Regions from separate parts of the Homo sapiens genome. Here all the other regions are linked to region 3. Evidence: promoter capture Hi-C in human tissues and cell types (Jung and others, 2019). All regions are on one chromosome and are shown on one strand. The core of a region is centred on a gene start or on the middle of the fragment in contact, and the rest is flanking DNA. Distances in the headings are between cores, read along the strand shown.

Region 1 (5,472 bases), core at 2,206-4,705, 130 kb before region 3:
CTCAAGGAAAGCCCCAGTCAGTGGCATTGCCTTAAGGTGAACTCAAACTGCCGACCTGAAGGGATGTCTGTGATGCAAATTATTATTTCCATGTCTATTCAGTTTGCTTTTCTTTCTCTCAGTTAAAGGGAAAGAATATCCCAAGTCTTTGTATTCAGAGGAATGTTCATCCTCATTCTCTGAATATCCATCCAGAGGGGCTAGAGAAGTGAAGTGAGAAATTATAGGTGTTTACACAATCATGACAAATAGAAGACACTTGGATGCAACACTACCAACATCCCTTGCTGTCTTTTACCCTAAATTACTTGTGAAATTGAAATATAGTTACAAAAGCATCTTCCTCATTTCAAACAAAAATTGTAAAATGTATAAGTTACAATTAAGAGGTTATAATTCTTAAAAGAATTCCAAAAAGCAAAAGCTTCCAAGTAAGTGTGAATCACATCAGAAAAGTTGAGAAAATAATTTTTAAAAAGTAGAATGAGGGAGGCAATCCTGGATCTTATTGACAGGGCAATGAAAGTAATAGCACATGGACTTTTCATTACATTGTTTCTTAAGCTGGTATTATGTGAAATATAATAAAATGATTGGTATCACCCTAGAGACATCTGAACCATCAAAAACTGGAGAGCAAGAAAAAAATGACTAATGGAGAATCTCCATGCTGTTGCTGTAGTTTAAACTGACAGAAAGCTCCCCCTCTCCCTTTCACTCATTGTGGACTCACCCTTAGGACTAGCTCTGGTGATGGTCTCCAGGCTCAACTGACGTCACTTCAGGTCTTTTTGGAGTCTGTCTCTTTCTCTATTTTCTGCCCAGTCAGATACCACTGTAGCCTAGTGCACTTCATTTTAAATGAACTTAGGAAAATGTTTCTGAACATCTTTTAAAAAAAAGTACTGTTTTTCTATCTTTTTAATCCATGTAATACTTTCACTTGATTTTTTGGAAAAATTTACATGGTGCTGAAAAGCATATGTAACTCAACCCAAATCAATAGAAGCAAAGGTTTCTGTTTTCGTAGTTGCCTCTACATTTCCATAGTACTTGCTTATGTAGCTATTTCTTGATTGGTTAGTTTCAGACATCATGTATTGACTTACCTTTAGATGAGAAAAGGACTTACCCTCCTTGCACTATATCCTGCCTTCCCATTTTAGATATATCATCATATCTCATTAAACAGTTAAGCCTTACATTAATAAGTCTATGTAAATACAATAATTGATTAAACAGTCAGAAAGTTACTATGATTCTATTTGCTTTTGTGCTTCAGACTTTTTCTTGCTCTTGCCATATATATTAATCAAATACTGTTAGTTCTAAATCGTCCATCTACCATATCAAGTGCTCTTTTATTCTGTGGATCTTCCTTTCTGTCTACCTTCCTGCTCCAAACCAAACTGGCAAATCTCTAAACCTGTCTGTGTGTGACAGATACTTAATATATTATTGGGAAACTTCATGGCAGTATATAGAGATATTCCTCATTCCTTTATTTTACTTTTTAATTTTTTTCAGTTAACAATGGAGTCTCGTCCTGTCTCCCAGGTTGGAGTGCAGTGGCATGATCATAGCTCACTGTAACCTTGAACTCCTGGGTTCCAGCAATCCTCCCACCTCAGCCACCCAAGTAGCTAGATCTAGAGGTGCATGCAACCATGCCCATTTTTTTCATTTTAATACTTTTTTTATTGTAGACATAGAGCCTCACTTTGTTGCCCAGGCTGGTCTTGAACTCCTATCCTCAAGTGATCCTCCCACATCAGCCTTCTAAAATGCTCAGATTAGTGACATGAGCCATGGCACCTGGCCCCTCATTCCTTTTTATAGCCGCATGGTATTTCATTGCTTGGGTCCACTATATTTTATTCCAGCAGTCCCCTACATATAGAATTTTTTCTCTTTAGCTTTTTGCTTTTGAAATAGTGTTGTATCAAACAGCTTTGAGCATAAGCCTTTTATTTTTTATTGATTCCTAGAATTGGTATTACTTGGTCAGAGAATAAATTTATATGCAATTATTCTAGATATTGCTAAATTTCCTTCCATTGGGTTTTATATTTTTGCGCTCTCTTCAGTTATAAATATAATTGCATGTTCACTCATAATCTCTCAAACAGAGTACTTGTCAAATTTAGGGAAATCTTTCAAATTGATAAATCAGAAATTGGATCATAATTTTGAGTGCAGTGGCGCAATCTCGGCTCACTGCAACCTCCTCCACCTCCCTGGTTCCAGCAATTCCCCTGCCTCAGCCTCCCGAGTAGCTGGGCTTACAGGCACATGCCCGCAGGCCCGGCTAATTTTTAGTAGAGACAGGGTTTCACCATGTTGGCTAGACTGGAATAATCATGTTCTTAATCTGTATTTTGCTTATTGTGAGTGAGACTAAGCATTTTTTTCACATTATTCACAAATATTTAAACTTATCAATTCACTCTGCTCATATTCTATAGCTCATTTTAGAATTACAGAAAATCATTTTATTTTAATCTATTATTATTTTAATGACAAACTAGCTTAGAATCAGGTCATTTTCTATAGGATTACTGGCCTCTTCTGTATTTTAGAAGCTATTTATATAAAAAGACATTGACTTTTTATCTATGATATAAGTAAACACATATCTGGTCTTGTTATAAATTTTGCAAGAAATATTCCCCTGTGAAATAAAGTGATGGTTATTAGAATAGAAGTTATATAACATATACTGCTGAATTAAGGACTTAATCCATCAATTCCAACCTTATTCGATCCTTTTACTTTTTTAAAACATGATAGATTTTGAATTTTGTCAAATGCCTTTTCTGTGTCTATATAAGCAGATATAAGCATGAGGTGTTTTATCTTAACTCTAATGTGTTAGATTTCATTAATGGGACTTCCTGATATTTAACGACTCTTCAATTCCTAGAATAAAGCTTACTTGGTCATAATGTATAGAGTTTTTAAATAAATCTATTTGCTAGTAATTGATCTAAGATTTTAATGCAGATATTTATAAATGGGATCGGTCTGCAGTTTTCTTTTTTCATTGAATCTGTCAGGTTATAGAAGAAAATATTTTGCTGATTTTATAAAAATAAAAGTTTAACCTCTTTTCCCCTGGACTGGAAAGACTTAAGGTGCATTGAGATTATATGATGTTTAACGTGCACTTTAGAGAATGAAGTAAGAAGTTTGTGAAGCCATCAAAGTCTAAAGCTTTTATTGTGATGGAGCTTGTTAGCTGCTTCCCCTTTTCTTCTATGGCAATTGCTGTCTTTAGATATTCTCTCTACTGGGGCCAATTTGAGTAAGCAGTATTTTTATACAAAATTTTCTTGAAAACTGGCATAAGACAGGGATGCCCTCTCTCACCACTCCTATTCAACATAGTGTTGGAAGTTCTGGCCAGGGCAATCAGGAAAGAGAAAGAAATAAAGGGTATTCAATTAGGAAAAGAGAAAGTCAAATTGTCCCTGTTTGCAGATGACATAATTGTATATTTAGAAAACCCCATCATCTCAGCCCAAAATCTTCTTAAGCTGATAAGAAACTTCAGCAAAGTCTCAGGATACAAAATCAATGTGCAAAAATCACAAGCATTCCTATACACCAATAACAGACAAACAGAGAGCCAAATCATGAGTGAACTCCCATTCACAATTGCTTCAAAGAGAATAAAATACCTAGGAATCCAACTTACAAGGGATGTGAGGACCTCTTCAAGGAGAACTACAAACCACTGCTCAACGAAAGAAAAGAGGACACAAACAAATGGAAGAACATTCCATGTTCATGGATAGGAAGAATCAATATTGTGAAAATGGCCATAGTGCCCAAGGTAATTTATAGATTCAACACCATCCCCATCAACTTACCAATGACTTTCTTCACAGAATTGGAAAAAACTACTTTAAAGTTCAAATGGAACCAAAAAAGAGCCCGCATTGCCAAGAAAATCCTAAGCCAAAAGAACAAAGCTGGAAGCATCACGCTACCTGACTTCAAACTACACTACAAGTCTACAGTAACCAAAACAACGTGGTACTGGTACCAAAACAGACATGTAGACCAATGGAACAGAATAGAGCCCTCAGAAATGATACCACACATCTACAACCATCTGATCTTTGACAAACCTGACAAAAACAAGAAATGGGGAAAGGATTCCTTGTTTAATAAATGGTGCTGGGAAAACTGGCTAACCATATGTAGAAAGCTGAAACTGGATCTCTTCCTTACACCTTACACAAAAATTAATTCAAGATGGATTCAAGACTTAAATGTTAAACCTAAAACCATAAAAACCCTAGAAGAAAACCTAGGCAATACCATTCAGGCCATAGGCATGGGTAAGGACTTCATGACTAAAACACCAAAAGCAATGGCAACAAAAGCCAAAATTGACAAATGGGATCTAATTAAACTAAAGAGCTTCTGCACAGCAAAAGAAACTACCATCAGAGTGAATAGGCAAAGTACAGAATGGGTGAAAATTTTTACAATCTACCCATCTGACAAAGGGCTAATATCCAGAATCTACAAAGAACTTAAACAAATTTACAAGAAAAAATCAAACAAACCCATTAAAAAGTGGGTGAAGGATATGAACAGACACTTCTCAAAATAAGACATTTATGCAGCCAATAGACACATGAAAAATTGCTCATCATCACTGGCCATCAGAGAAATGCAAATCAAAACCACAATGAGATATCATCTCACACCAGTTAGAATGGCGATCAATAAAAAGTCAGGAAACAACTGGTGCTGGAGAGGATATGGAGAAATAGGAACACTTTTACACTGTTGGTGGGACTGTAAACTAGTTCAACCATTGTGGAAGACAGTGTGGCAATTCCTCAAGGATCTAGAACTAGAAATGCCATTTGACCCAGCCATCCCGTTACTGGGTATATACCCAAACGATTATAAATCATGCTGCTATAAAGACACATACAAACATATGTTTATTGCAGCACTATCCACAATAGCAAAGACTTGGAACCAACCCAAATGTCCATCAATGATAGATTGGATTAAGAAAATGTGGCACATATACACTGTGGAATATTATGCAGCCATTAAAAAGGATGAGTTCATGTCCTTTGTAGGGACATGGATGAAGCTAGAAACCATCATTCTGAGCCAACTATCACAAGGACAGAAAACCAAACACTGCATGTTCTCACTTATAGGTGGGAATTGAACAATGAGAACACCTGGACACAGGGTGGGGAACATCACACACCAGGGCCTGTCCTGGGGTTGGGGGAGGGGGGAGGGATAGCATTAGGAGATATACCTAATGTAAATGATGAGTTAATGGGTGCAGCACACCAACATGGCTCATGTATACATACATGACAAACCTGCACGTTGTGCACATGTACCCTAGAACTTAAAGGATAATAATAATAAAAAATATATGTATCTATTTTATCTATGTTTTAAAATTTAAGTTGCCTACAGGTTTTT
Region 2 (3,543 bases), core at 1-2,500, 220 kb after region 3:
CTTATTTTTATCGTGGCATTTTCTCATATAGAACCATCTTCCTGGTTGAGGTGTGCAAGACCTAACTTCCCTTCAGAGTACTATACTATCTTCAGTGCTTTTCCACCTGCTTTCTCCGTTTTGCTTTCAAACAGTATAGAGTTTTGTTAACTTTGATCATAATGCAAAAATACGTTTAATATTTCCACATCTATAAAACTAAAACATATTTAATCAAAGCAAGCATTGTATTATAAGATGTGATAAACTCTGATTTTCTATTCTACTGCACTTCACTTTTTTAAAATGCTGGTCAATCCACTAAATTGACTTTATAAACTTACTAATGAGTTACACAGCTAGCTCTGGGGAAAAAAAAATATCAGTGATGTAAACACTTCTGAATCTGGACAAATAATCTGATTTTTAGTCTGAACTCTATCAGTAACTAGAAGAGCTTACATAAGCCATTTTGCCTCAGAGCTCCCGTCCCTCAACACTGAAATAAGAGGGCTGAAACAGGTCATAGGAAGGTCTAGTATGCAGTTAGCTAATGGCTCCCATTGCCACTTCAGACCAATCTGAATTACTCTGTTTGTACTCTGGTGCTGCAGAGCCTGGTGACATTAGGACAAATATAAATCTTAAAAACATTTCTTCCATAAAGATAGAAAAAGCATCCAATCACACTGTGTCCCATGTATGCATGGATATTTTAGTCCCTTTGAGCTTTTTATTTGCTCCTGATACTCAGACTTTTCCCTTTTCCTTTCTAGCCAATGGCCTTCTGGAGAGCTAAGCCTATCAAATTAGTAAGATAACTGAGGAATCAGTATAGCAGGATGAGAGTTTTACTATAGGGCTATAAGATGACTTAAGAATTCAGGTTCACGATAGCAAAGACTTGGAACCAACCCAAATGTCCAACAATGATAGACTGGATTAAGAAAATGTGGCACATATACACCATGGAATACTATGCAGCCATAAAAAATGATGAGTTCATGTCCTTTGTAGGGACATGGATGAAATTGGAAATCATCATTCTCAGTAAACTATCGCAAGAACAAAAAACCAAACACCGCATATTCTCACTCATAGGTGGGAATTGAACAATGAGATCACATGGACACAGGAAGGGGAATATCACATTCTGGGGACTGTAGTGGGGTGGGGGGAGGGGGGAGGGATAGCATTGGGAGATATACCTAATGCTAGATGATGAGTTAGTGGGTGCAGCGCACCAGCATGGCACATGTATACATATGTAACTAACCTGCACAATGTGCACATGTACCCTAAAACTTAAAGTATAATAATAAAAAATAAATAAATAAGTAAAGAAAGAAAGAAAGAAAGAAAGAATTCAGGTTCTGGAATTGCCATCAACTTTAACTTTCTGAGACACTTAATTCCAGCAATACTGTGCTAAGATAATCAGGTAGTATTAAGGCAACATTCAAGACTTAAAATTCAATTAAGATAAATATTCAAAGAAATAAGAAAATTGTTTCATCAAAGCTTTTTTGTCAAAAGGGAGAGCATAACACTCCATTCTCTTTAAAGCTGTTTTTTTTAAGATACTACTTATAGGTTAAATAATTATTCAGAAAAATGATCTCAAAGACCTGGTTAATCATTAACTAATGAACTATCATAAAGAAAATATTGGTTCTGTTAGTCATGATTTTCCTTACACACATAACTCTTAACCCAAATATTGTCCAAGTTGTTAATAAAAGGAAAATAATGTATTCTAAGGTTTTATTAGAAAAGATATACTTACATAAAAGAATAGCTAAAATATCCAGTGATTAATCTACATTTGTAAACTTTCCTGAACTTATGACATTTTTAGCAGGAAGTGCTATTCTAAATAAATAAGCAAACACATTTTGTTCAACCCATTAGGATGAAATCACAATAAAAAATGCATGAAAAACTGTAGGTGATACAGTTAACAGTAACTTGTTCCTTAATATTGTTACTCTAATAATGATGCCTTTGTTACTGGGAGATGTGATGTCACATGAATACACAAATGTCCAATGTATGTTCAATGAAAGGCAAGTGTTAAAAAAAACTGATGTGTATATGTTTGTATATTGATTGTTGTAATTATATTTTTTTATCTTGAAGGAGCTGCAGAGTATTAACAGGGTGAATTCTGAGTCACGGTAATAAATTGGGGACAAGGAAGATAATTTTTGTGACCTTATACCTACATCTATGTTTTAGTTTTTTTACAATGAGCATGTAAAACTTGTAGTTTTAAATATTTTTAAAATAAGGTACTATATACCCACTCCAGTTGTTTCTTAATAAACACAGGAAATAAAAATAAGTTGCCATCCTGCAAACATATCAGGGAACCAAATGAACAGCACTCTTATTTCTGAGACCACACTACTGGGACACTATAGTCTGCAGTGATAAAGGAACAGAGTGCTTTGCAAGCATTAACAAGTGGGTTAAACTTTAAAAATTAAACCCTGTTGATATTTTCTTCATCAAAAAGATTTGCAATGCAAACAAAATCTTGATGCATAAAATGTAATAATAAAATTATGTAAATCAGGTAACTTTAAAATTTTTAAGACCATCCCACTAAGATTAATGAACCCTCCTTGTTTTTCCACCTGGAATTCTAATCTCAGGCTTGTTTTCAGGAAGATTCTCTGCCATTTGTCTCTAGAAACATTTGTAAAGCATCAAGGCTTTGATTTATTCACCTGTGTACTTGTTGAATGAAATAGAACCTGCTTCAACTTTGATTTGCTTCAAACCATCTGAAGAGCTAATATACTAATACCACTAAGTGGGTGATTTCTGTTAAAGTTGATTATTTCAATGCTATTTGGACAAAATTAAACTATAAAAAGAAAGCCTAGGTACCAAAATGCTAGTAATAGGATGCTAACTAAATATGACAGAAATCCATTCAAAAGAAGGAAAGTTATTAATAGATTACTAATCTCATATTTACAAACAATATCACAATAAATTTTAAAATGCAAATATTTTAAGCATAAAACTGATCCCATATATCTCCCCATCAAAAATGTAAACAAGTTTCCTTCCACTGTTTACATACATACCATCAGAAAAGGCTAAGTAGGGACTAAATCAACCTAAAATAATTTGAAAGTGGCATAAGGGCTGAGAGTTATTAGTGAAATCTAAGGACCATCATGAGAGCATTTTCTAGTACCACATTCAGACTGAAACTGAGATTACTTTACAGAAATAAGGGTGCAGCTTTGAAAAAATGGCTTAAAGTTCCCAAAAGTGATGAGTTGTTTGATTTTTTTACACCTTGAGCTACCTGCACAGCTGCCAAAAAGTATTAAGGTGGATGATGAATACACCTCTGAAAGGCTTACTGTAACTCCATATATTTTGATTCTTGAATGAAACCAATTAACTAATGTACTTTACAGTTAGAGCTCTCACATGACAGAGTGTAAGGGAAAAGGAACACTGCAGTTCCCAATAGGAAACCAGTAAGGATCTCCATTTCCCAATCCCTTCCATGCAATCATGCAACAGAGACACAAAGAAAGT
Region 3 (5,140 bases), core at 2,497-4,996:
GGTCCCAGAGGAATATGTGGAGAACCAGTTGAACCAACTCTTTCTGTGTTTTTCGCACACCTTGTCTCTCAGCATTCATGATTTAGAGAGTTCAACATAGGTTTTGAGGGCACATTCATTTCAAGAGGATTACATGAAAGTACTAACTTTTTTGTGTGGCTAAAAGGGCTTTTCTTTGTTCTGTCACCAGGCGAAAAGGTTTATTTTGGGAATGCTCCCCATGGCAAACCTCTTTGAGAAATGAATTCCGAATTGCATTAAACCCTGTCTTCAGGAACTTCTAGATAAAGCATTTAAAGGAAATACTGGGACATTGTCTATCTTCAACTTTCTAACTTTGAGAAGTGATCTTAGCCAATCTGGAATTTTGATAGATTTCCTAGACACTTCATAAACGTTTAAAATAAGCAACTTTGTAAAAGACTCCACATTTACCTAGCCAAAAAAAAAAAATCCTCTCATAAATGCAAAATTAGTTCACAAGTTTGCAGGTAGGAATTCTTAAAATTTGATACAACTTTTTGCTCATATATAGAAGTGAAATTTACATAGTAGTTAGTTGCTAGTGAATTCATAAATAAAATTTATCGATAACAGATTTTAAGTAATAAGATGAAAAAAAAACTATATCCATAGCAGTACTGCTCAAGGCATGAGTAATGAAAGTAACATTAAAAAAAAATATTGGCCTAGAATCTGTTTCCACTTTTCTGCACTTTAAGACACTCCTACAGAGGCAGTTTGTCAGTCGGACTGATTTATTGGAGCAAGAAGTAACTTTAATCCTTTTCTTCCATTTTACAAAAGGGGAAACTGACACCCAGTCATTCATGAAGATCAATGAACAATTCTTTACATTTCACATGGTTGTCTTTACATGTTAAGGTGAAATATTTAAGGTTAAACTTCAATTGCATATTACTGATGTCTAGAACACTGTTTCCCCAAAATAAGAAAAAAATTTGCTTAGGCTTTCTGCAATTACAATAATAAAAAGCATAGTCTGTGTAACCATTTAGACATGCATTCAAATCCTAGCTCCAAATCCTGGTCCCACAACTAACTAGCCACATGACCTTAAGTGAATTACTGAGACTCAGTTTCACTGCCTATAACATCATAGAAAATAATACAGAGCTGGAAGACAAACATCAGAGAATCAATGAGGTACTGTGAAAAGGTGTCTAATGCAGGTGGTAGACCCTGTAAGGAGTAGCTGATACTGTGTTTTAAATTCCAAATGAGGAATGTGTATATTTACCTTAAAATTGTTTGGCCTTATTCTTGAGCCCAATGACCAGTTAATAAAGTATAACTGAATACTTTAAAATATCATTATCAATTTATAAAAAATATTTCTTAAGCTCATTTTGTGGCAGGTAGTGGGATGGTGCAGAAAGAACATATAACTCATTCAAGTCCCTGTCCTGTAAAAGAAATTAAGTCACACGAAATCAATAGTGACCCATAGATGTCTCTTATGTGATCAAGTGCTTGCTAAGTTGTGGTTAACAGTCCAAAAGTGCTCCAAGAAAAGTAAAGAGATAGACCTCAGTGAGGATTAGAGCAGACTTCCAGGACTCAGTGGAGGAAATTTGAATGGAGATGGAGATGATGAGAAGGCCAGTGGGGAGAGAGAAAAGTCACCCCACAGGAGCCATAGGCATGAACCCAACAAAGCTTGTATAGGAAGGGCAGATCCAACACTGGGTGGAGTCAACTAAGCAAAATATTCATATTCCAAAGCTTCCATATAATTCCTTATTCAGACAACATTGTATATTGTTACTTGGCTCAGCAATTGAATGTTGACCTCGTTCTTACGAGACAGGGAGGATAAGGACTGCAATTCAAAATAGCCAGATTTGGAATTAGCACTCACAACCCTAGACCATATTTCTCATTCCTTTAGCCTTACTCCGTAACCATGTTCCTAACCACATTTCACACTTAAAGTTCACCTTTTTAAATAGAAATTGATTTTCTACTTCCACTGTCCCAGAAAGCATTGCCTAAGAGCCAAAAATCCAAGGTTCTTGTCCCATCTATTCCATTAACTAACATGAAGCAAAAAACGAGCCTCCTGTCTCTGGGTGAAACTGCTACATGGAATGGGTGCTTCTGGGTTTGAAGTTCCACAGATCCAGTAGGGATTTTGCTGATTGGAGGACGGCACAGTACTCTCCAGTGCATCTCCAAGCCTGACTTCCTGACCTCTTTTATACAATCTCTGGGCAAAACTACCAGTCGCTGTTATTTTCCTCTCTGCGGTAAACATGGAGCTCAAGAATGGATAGAAAGACCTTATTGTATTGCTCTACCTGGTAAATAAATATCATGTTGAATTTGCATGGCAGCTTTCTGATTATTTTCATGTCTCCGATAAGCATCAAGTCTGTCATAGGTACAGTATAAAAATGCCTGAGATTGCCTAACACCGATACTGTGGCAGGAAGAGAGGAGAAGAGCTGTACTGGGGAAAATGAGGAGTACTTGTAATCCTCTCTCGGGGCAGTGAGAGGGCCTGGGAAGAAAAGATCGAGCTGTTCCGTGTTGGGGTTAATGTTGGCTTGAAATGAAACTTCAGGGCAAAATGAAGCAGAGCAAAGAGCAGCGCCCACAAACCAACCTTAAATATCACAGCGGCGGAACATTTACCTGAAAGAAAAGTGACACTTGGCATTAAAAGTTCAATTATCACGTTCAGTGCAGAGCCTTGTTCTAGTCTGGAGCTGCCGGGTGTCACATGGTGCGTGATAACTTGCCCTTGATTTGGGTTCATTTGAAGAGCGTAGAACTCTAACAAATAAACAGCCTTTTGGGACCTGTCCCCGGACGAGGACTGCCCCCCTCCCTCGGGCAACTACTACTGATGCTGTCCAGGCATCGCCCAAGGGGAAAGGTTGCAGCGGGGTCGGAAGGCGCGGGAGGAGTCTGGCGGTGATTGATGGGAAGGGATGAATGAATAAAAGTACTTGTCTGATGGCAGCAGAGACCCCGAGCAAACGGTGGAGGCTACACTGTCTGGCATTCTCGCAGCGTTTCGTCAGAGCCGGACCCGCCTGCAGCTCAAGGGAGGCGTGCTCCTCTCCCAGAGCAGGCTGGAACCCAGCTGGGTTCCGCCTCCCGGGAAGGTGGTCTCCATTCGTCGCTCTGCATCTGGTTTGTCAGATCCGAGAGGTAAACATTCGGGCTTGGTGTTGAATTAAAATCATTGATTGAACCTTATTCTGGGGCTTCGGTTTGGCTTACTAGTTTGGGATTTTAAAAAAATAAAAATTAAGCCTATAGAGAGGGCAAATTAAAATTAGGTTGGGTAAAGGAAGGAGCGCGAGTGTTTGAAGCCGTTTGGAGGGAACAGCGGTTTCCAAGTTCCTGCTGACTTGAGAAGTCTCTGCGGGTTTCCGAATCTCCGGCGCACTCCTGGGCGCGCTGCGGGAGCTGTAGCTCAGCCAGCCAGGGAGTAGCGGCTTTCATCCGCCGGGAGGAGTCTTTCGAGTTCAATCGCGGGGTATAGAGGTTCCCCTGCGGGGCAAAATGCAGAGCTTGACACAAGCCCTTGGCCTCTAGGTGCCTTAATTCCGCGGTTCCCACGCACGCTTAACTAAGACGTGTCTGTATTCCTCCCGTTACGTGAAAGAGTTCGGAGCTTTGCCTGGGACCCCCATCATTCCCTCCCTGGCACACCCCTTCCAGAACGCCCCGCCCCACTGCATATTATTTACCCCTCCTGGCCACGCGGGGGAAGAAAAACAGCTGAGAGGGCATCAGGAAGGAGTTTCGACCCGCGCTGGCGAGTCATGAGCGCCAAGTTTCCCACTGGCGCGCAAACTTGAGTTACTTTTGAGCGTGGATACTGGCGAAGAGGCTGCGGGCGGTATTAGCGTTTGCAGCGACTTGGCTCGGGCAGCTGACCCAAGTGTCCTGTCTTCCTTCCTCTGCTTGTCTCTAGGCTCTGAAACTGCGGAGCGGCCACCGGACGCCTTCTGGAGCAGGTAGCAGCATGCAGCCGCCTCCAAGTCTGTGCGGACGCGCCCTGGTTGCGCTGGTTCTTGCCTGCGGCCTGTCGCGGATCTGGGGAGAGGAGAGAGGCTTCCCGCCTGACAGGGCCACTCCGCTTTTGCAAACCGCAGAGATAATGACGCCACCCACTAAGACCTTATGGCCCAAGGGTTCCAACGCCAGTCTGGCGCGGTCGTTGGCACCTGCGGAGGTGCCTAAAGGAGACAGGACGGCAGGATCTCCGCCACGCACCATCTCCCCTCCCCCGTGCCAAGGACCCATCGAGATCAAGGAGACTTTCAAATACATCAACACGGTTGTGTCCTGCCTTGTGTTCGTGCTGGGGATCATCGGGAACTCCACACTTCTGAGAATTATCTACAAGAACAAGTGCATGCGAAACGGTCCCAATATCTTGATCGCCAGCTTGGCTCTGGGAGACCTGCTGCACATCGTCATTGACATCCCTATCAATGTCTACAAGGTAAAGGGCGCCTGCTGAAATCATGGTGGGCTTGAGGAAGGGGGCCTGGTTGGAGACGGGGAGATGAGAAAGCTTGTAGAGGGAGCTTCCCTTTAGCTCCCTCTTAAGGTTCTGCCCCTCCTAAAAGTCAGTAATCTTTGGAACCAAATTCCATTTGGTTCTGTCCACTCATAAAAGTCAGTAACCATTGGAATAAAATTCCATTCAGGTCTTCAGTAGACCTCTGCTAAGCTTAGGACAAGCGTAGTCCCCAGTCTAGCAATGTTAGTATCACTTTGGGAACTTGGTGCACATGAAGATTTTTCTGGCCTCACCCCAGACCTACTGAATCAGAAACTCTGGAGTGGAGCACAGTAATTTGTATTTTAACAAGCCCTTTATGTGATTATGATGAACTGTAAAGTTTGAGAACCACTAGTCCTGAAGGATCTAGTCCCTAAGTGCACCTAATGGGGTACATCCTCTAGTCAAAAGTGTGTGGTCCATGGACAGTCAGCATCAATATTACCTGAGAGTTTGTTAGGAATGCAAGGCTACCTCAGACTTACTAAGTTAGAATCTGCATCTTAAGATCTTCATGTGATTGATATGCCCACTAACTTTGGGAAGGACTGTTTTGGAAGACTTTGAAAGTAGCAGGTACAAAGTAGGTAT
Region 4 (5,637 bases), core at 1,282-3,781, 150 kb after region 3:
ATCACCTTTCTGAACTCATTTCTATGGCTTTCCTCTTTGTTCCCTGTTTGCAGACACACTGGCCTCCTTGCTCTTCCTCAAACACACAGGCATGCTCCACCTCACAGCCTTCCTCCACACAGGCTATTCCCTCTTTTTTTAGCAGCTTTCCTCAAAGGGTATTCTGCAAATCATCCAGAGGGCTCATTCAATAGATCTGGGATGATGCTTGAGAATATCAGCTTCTAACAAATTCTCAAAAGATGCTGCTGGTGTTAGAATTACACTTTGAAACCACTGCCCTGGGACATCCGCTATCTATAATGTATTAAATTATTTCCTGTGCATTTAAAATAATAATAGTTATAAACCCTCCTGGGAAGAACTGTGAAAATAGTCACTACAACTATTTCATGTTCTGTAGAACTCCAGATGAAAAAGGTTGTGAAACATCTTCAGGACTAACTCTCCATCGTCAAGCCTTTGCTCATACTAGCTCCTTAACGATATTGAAGTGGCATCGTTTGTCTGGGGAAACACCCGAGGTTCGTTGTCTCGCACTAAGAAAAATGAAGACCACAAGGTGTGGGTTTAAGAGCGGAAAGTTTAATAGGTGAAAGAAACAAAAGAAAAGCTGCCCCATGTAGAGGGAGGGGGATTCCGAATGGATCTCCCTGTTAGCAGCGGGATGCGGTTGGTTTTATAGAGGGGCTCGAGGAGGCGGTATCTGATTTACATAAGGCCCAGGGGATTGGTTGGACCAGGTGTGACATTTACATAGCCCTCGAAGACGCTGGCCATCCCACTCTAATCTTTTATTATACAGATGGGGTTTCTACCTGGCCAGCGCCATGACACCTGCACATGTGGTGACAAGGAAAAGGGAAGAGAAAACCTCCATGTTGGATGCTTCTGGCACGGCTGCCGGCATTCACGTATGCAAGCTTCCAGTTGCTTATCTATGTTTGCAGCTTGATTTTTCAGGCTGCTTTTTTTTTGTTAGAAAAGAAATGATTTGGGGGCTGCCTTTTCATTAAAGGAAAACCTTACCAAAGACTCCTGTACCCTCACTAACTGCCTAAATAATTTAACTCCTATATTAATATCTACTGAGGTGACCCTTTTAATAGTATGATTTCTCCCCACCCCTATTTTCTCTTAACTCCTCTTGTCTTGATCTCCTCTTTTCCCCCACAGAACTTATGACCTAACCTGCAGTGATTTTCTTACCTGTTTATGGTTTCTCCCCAACAAGAATGTAAAAGCCAAGATGAAGGGATCTTTGTTATTTTATTGCAAGGGCTAAGCAGACTTTTTTGAATATAAATCAAACATTTGAATGGAGAACGAATCGAATCCTTTTTCTCTGCAGAATAAAAAGTGATTAAAAAAAATACCAGCTACCTGTGTTCATTGGAAGAGAGCATAGTTGTGGGGAAAAATAAGACTTTTGAGCCAGATAAACCTGGATTCAAAGGTAAGCTGCACTATTTAAACATTGCTAAATGTTTACCCAAGACTAATGTCACTAATATGGTTTGGATATTTTGTCCCCTCCAAATCTCATGTTGAAATGTAATCCCCAGTGTCGAAAGTGGGTTAGTGGGAGGTTTGTGGCTCATGGGACAGATTCCCTCTTGAATGGCTTGGTGTCCTCCCCAGGGTAATATGTCCGCATGAGAGCTCTAAAGAGCCTGGCACCTCCGCCCTCTCTCTCTTGTTCCCTCCCACCGTGTGATACACTGACTTCCCCATTTGCCTTCTGCCGTTATTGTAAACTTCCTGACTCCTCTTGGGAAGCTGAGCAAATGTTGGCACCATGCTTCCTGTACACTCTGCAGAACTGTGGGCCAGTTAAACCTCTTTTCTTTATAAATTACCCAGCCTCAGGTATTTCTTTACAGCAATGCAAAAAAATAAACACAGAAAATTAGTACTGAGGAGTAGGGCATTGCTATAAAGATAACTGAAGATGTGGAAGTGGCTTTAGAACAGGGTAACAGAGGTTAGAAGAGTTTGGAGGGCTAACGACAGGAAGATGAGAAAAAGTTTGGGACTTCTTAGAAACTGATTGGAATGGTTATGACTAAAATGCTGACAAGAGATATGGACAGTGAAGGCCAGGCTGAAGAGGCCTCAAATGCAAATGAGGAACTTATTGGGAATTGGAGTAAAGGTCCCCCTTGTCGCTCCTTAGCAAAGAGCTTGCTGCATTGTGCCGATGTCCTAGGAATCTGTGGAAGGTTGAACTTAAGATGACTTAGGGTATCTGGCAGAAGTTTCTAAGCAGCAAAACATTCAAGAAGTGCTGTGGCTGCTTCTAACAGCCTATAATCAGATACAGAAGCAAAGAGATGACTTAAAAGTCAGAATATATATTTAAAAGGGAAGCAGAGAGTAAAATTTGGAAAAGTCAGCCGGGTGCAGTGGCTCACACCTTGTAATCCCAGCACTTTGGGAGGCTGAGGTAGGCAGATCAACCTGAAGTCAGGAGTTTGAGAATAGCCTGGCCAACATGGCAAAACCCTGTCTCTACTAAAAATACAAAATTAGCCAGTGTGGTGGTGAATGTCTGTAGTCCCAGCTACTCTACTCTGGAGGCTAAGGCAGGACAATCACTTGAACCCAGGAGGTGGAGGTTGCAGTGAGCTGAGATCATGCCACTGCACTCTAGCCTGGACAACAGAGCAAGACTCTGTATAAAACAAAACAAAACAAAACAAAAAAATTGGAAAAGTCACAGCCTGGCCCTGTGGTAGAGAAGGAATCCAAGTGGCCTGTGGAGTAACCACTTGAGAGATCAGCATGACTGAAAAAGAGCGAAGAGAATAGGGAAAAGGCCTCAAATGTATTTCAGAAATCTCTGAGGCAGCCCAATGCATCACAGGCTCAGGAGGCCTATGGGGGAAGAATGGTTTAAGGGGCCAGGCCCAGGGCCCCACTGCGCTGTGCAGTCTCAGGGTATCGTTCCCTGCATCCCAGCCACTCTGGGCCCAGCCTCGGCTCAAAGGGCCACAGGCACACCTTGGGCTGCCTCTTTAGAGGGCAAGTCATGAGCCTTGGTGGCTTCCACATGGTGTTAAGTCTGAAAGTACACAGAATGCAAGAGTGAAGGAGGCATGGCAGCTTTCACCTAGATTTCAGTGGATGCATCAGAAAGCCTGGGTGGCCAGGCAGAAACCTGCCACAGAGGCAGAGCCCTCACAGCAGCCTCTACCAGGGCAGTGCTAAGAGCAAATGTGGAGTTGGAGGCCCCCCTGCAGAATTGCCACTGGGGATGGCCTAGTGGAGCTGTGGGAAGGGGGTTGCCGCCCTTCATACCCCAGAATGGTAAAGCCACTGGCAGTTTACATCCTGAGCCTGCAAAAGCTGCAAGCACTCAACTCCAGCCCATGAGGGCAGCCACATGAGCTGCACCCAGTAAAACCACAGAGGCAGAGCTGCCCAAGGCCTTGGGAGCCCACCCCTTGCACCAGTGTGTCCTGAATGGAGGACATGGGGTCAAAGGAAATTATTTTGGAGCTTTAAGATTTAATGACTACCATGCTGGGTTTCAGACCTGTATGTGGCCTGTTGCCCCTTTCTTTTGGCCAATTTCTCCCTTTTGGAATGGAAATGTTTGCCCAATGCCTGTACCACCATTATCTTGGAAGTAAATAACTTGTTTTCATAATACAGGCTCATAGGTGGAAGGAGATGAGTTTCACATCAGACTTAGGACTTTGGACTTGATGTTGGAATGAATTAAAACTTTGGGGGACTGTTGGAAAGAGAAGATTACATTTTGCAATCCAAGGAGGGCATGAGACTTGGGGGCCGGGGTAGAACGATATGGTTTGTATATCTGTCTGCTCCAAATCTCATGTTGAAATGTGATCCCCAGTGTTGGAGGTGGGGCCTGGTGGAAGGTGATTGGATCATGGGGGCAGATCCCTCATGAACGGCTTAGTGCCATCCCCTGGGTGATAAGTGAGCTCTTGTTCTGAGTTCACACAAGATCTTGTTGTTTTTTTAAAAAGTGTAGAAACCCCGCCCCACCCCTTGCTCTCACTCTCACCATGTGATGCACCAGCTCCCCCTTTGCCTTCCGCCATGACTGTGAGCTTTCTGAGGCCTCACCAGAAGCCAAGCAGATGCTGGCACCACGCTTCCTGTACACCCTGCAGAACTATGAGCCAATTAAACCTCTTTTCTTCATAAATTACCCAGTCTCAGGTATTCCTTTATAGTGATGCAAAAACTGACAAATAATCACCTCTGTGGGACTTAGTGTCTTCATCTTTAAAATGGTGATAATAGTAGGTGAAAGTTAGTCCTAGACAAATGTATATAAAATATCTTGCACAGTTCTTTTGACTGAAGGGGTGCTTAATAAATATTACTTCCCTTTTCATATCTTACCTCCTCTAGCTCACATTCCACTTAAAGTGCAAGTTATTTAAACAAACATTCCTTTTAGTTCTAGAGAGAATTACATACAAAGGTACACTTTAAAAAAACTAAAAACCTCTAATGACTATAGGTAGAACTCCATTTCAAAACCTAACCTAAAAATCTTTGCCTAAACTTCCCACAGTACCTTCAAGTAAAGTTTTCCAACATATATCAAATATAATGCAGAATAAGGATAGTACTTGCTATTTTACTGATACTGAGAAAGTATTTCAAATTCAACTCCTATAAAATATTAAAATCTCCACTGACAATGTTCATCTGTAAATGTGTTTCTCAGCAACATGCTGCGTGAGTTTTAGTGGCCTCTTTAAATGGACCTAAACCTCCCTGTAAAACTACCTAACTAAAACTAATGTAAGAAAAATCATACAATTCTTATCAGGAGTACTTGGGAAAAGAAGAATAATTTTACAAATGTGAATATTCTAAGTCTACCTGCTTGAGATATAAATGCCCTGCACAAGAACAGAGTAACAATAAGCATTTTCACAATTGTAGTGAAACACATGTGTAGTTACACTGTTTATGCTGTACATTCATGCATGACCTGATATTGCTGAAATAGAGTCTTTATTTCTGAACATTCCAAAACAGCAGTGTACACAGTAACAAATATTAAGTTATATGCCATAAGAAAGCATTCATTAGTGCAAATGGATTTTGTAAAAGGTCTATCAAAAAGATTTATTTGCTTTAAAATGCATTCATTTCCAGAAGCATTGTTAATAAAACATTACAGTTTCATCCTTCGTAATAAAGTATTGAAAATCAATTGTGGTACAGTAGCAAACATTGCAGGTATTAAGTGCAATGAGCTCATGATGCCGTTATAAATATGAAACCCATGTATGACAATAAATTAAAAATGAAAAAGACAGGACCATTTAATTCTGCTGTCTGGTTATCTCCTTGCAATGCTTCAAATTATGTTGTGCTCATTCAACACAAAATTATGTGTCTCAAATTGCATGATGTGTTTTTGCTGATATATCCCTAGAGCTAAAAAAATAGTACCTTACCACAAAAATATTTTTATGGCACAAAATTTAAGTTGTTCCATAGTGGTTCACATAGGTGTAAAAAGAAATAGGCACAAAAAATAAAATTCCTGTAAACTATAAAAAAGTAAATTTCAAAGCATACATTATAGAACCTAGTTGTCAATATGCAATGTATTAAAATACAGAACATGTAATGGAAAGA

Evidence for each region. Contacts are between HindIII fragments. The study calls those that stand out against the background at their distance.
Region 1: a fragment that was not itself captured here is called in contact with the fragment with the promoter of EDNRB in region 3 in 2 of the 25 tissues and cell types used here (H1 embryonic stem cells and spleen).
Region 2: a contact is called between a fragment that was not itself captured here and the fragment with the promoter of EDNRB in region 3, in 1 of the 25 tissues and cell types used here (hippocampus).
Region 4: a contact is called between a fragment that was not itself captured here and the fragment with the promoter of EDNRB in region 3, in 1 of the 25 tissues and cell types used here (aorta).

The regions. Positions count from the first base shown.
Region 1 is chr13:78,047,584-78,053,055 of GRCh38, reverse strand. All of the region lies in intron 5 of LINC00446 (long intergenic non-protein coding RNA 446), which reads right to left. Among named protein-coding and RNA genes, the nearest start is that of OBI1-AS1, 4.5 kb to the left of the region's middle. The HindIII fragment of the contact is 3,556 bases long and covers 1,678-5,233 here.
Region 2 is chr13:77,699,533-77,703,075 of GRCh38, reverse strand. The region is part of intron 1 of SLAIN1 (SLAIN motif family member 1); the gene reads right to left. Among named protein-coding and RNA genes, the nearest start is that of MIR3665, 3.2 kb to the right of the region's middle. The HindIII fragment of the contact is 6,253 bases long and covers 1-3,543 here.
Region 3 is chr13:77,917,437-77,922,576 of GRCh38, reverse strand. It overlaps EDNRB (endothelin receptor type B), which reads left to right and starts at 3,746. Exons shown (of 7, transcript NM_001122659.3): 1 at 3,746-4,486. The coding sequence starts at 4,004. RefSeq lists a cis regulatory region at 3,380-3,389 and promoters at 3,641-3,755, 2,745-3,817. The HindIII fragment of the contact is 11,006 bases long and covers 1-5,140 here.
Region 4 is chr13:77,763,580-77,769,216 of GRCh38, reverse strand. It overlaps SLAIN1 (SLAIN motif family member 1), which reads right to left. Exons shown (of 7, transcript NM_001242868.2): 7 at 4,988-5,637. Among named protein-coding and RNA genes, the nearest start is that of EDNRB-AS1, 53 kb to the left of the region's middle. The HindIII fragment of the contact is 6,663 bases long and covers 1-5,637 here.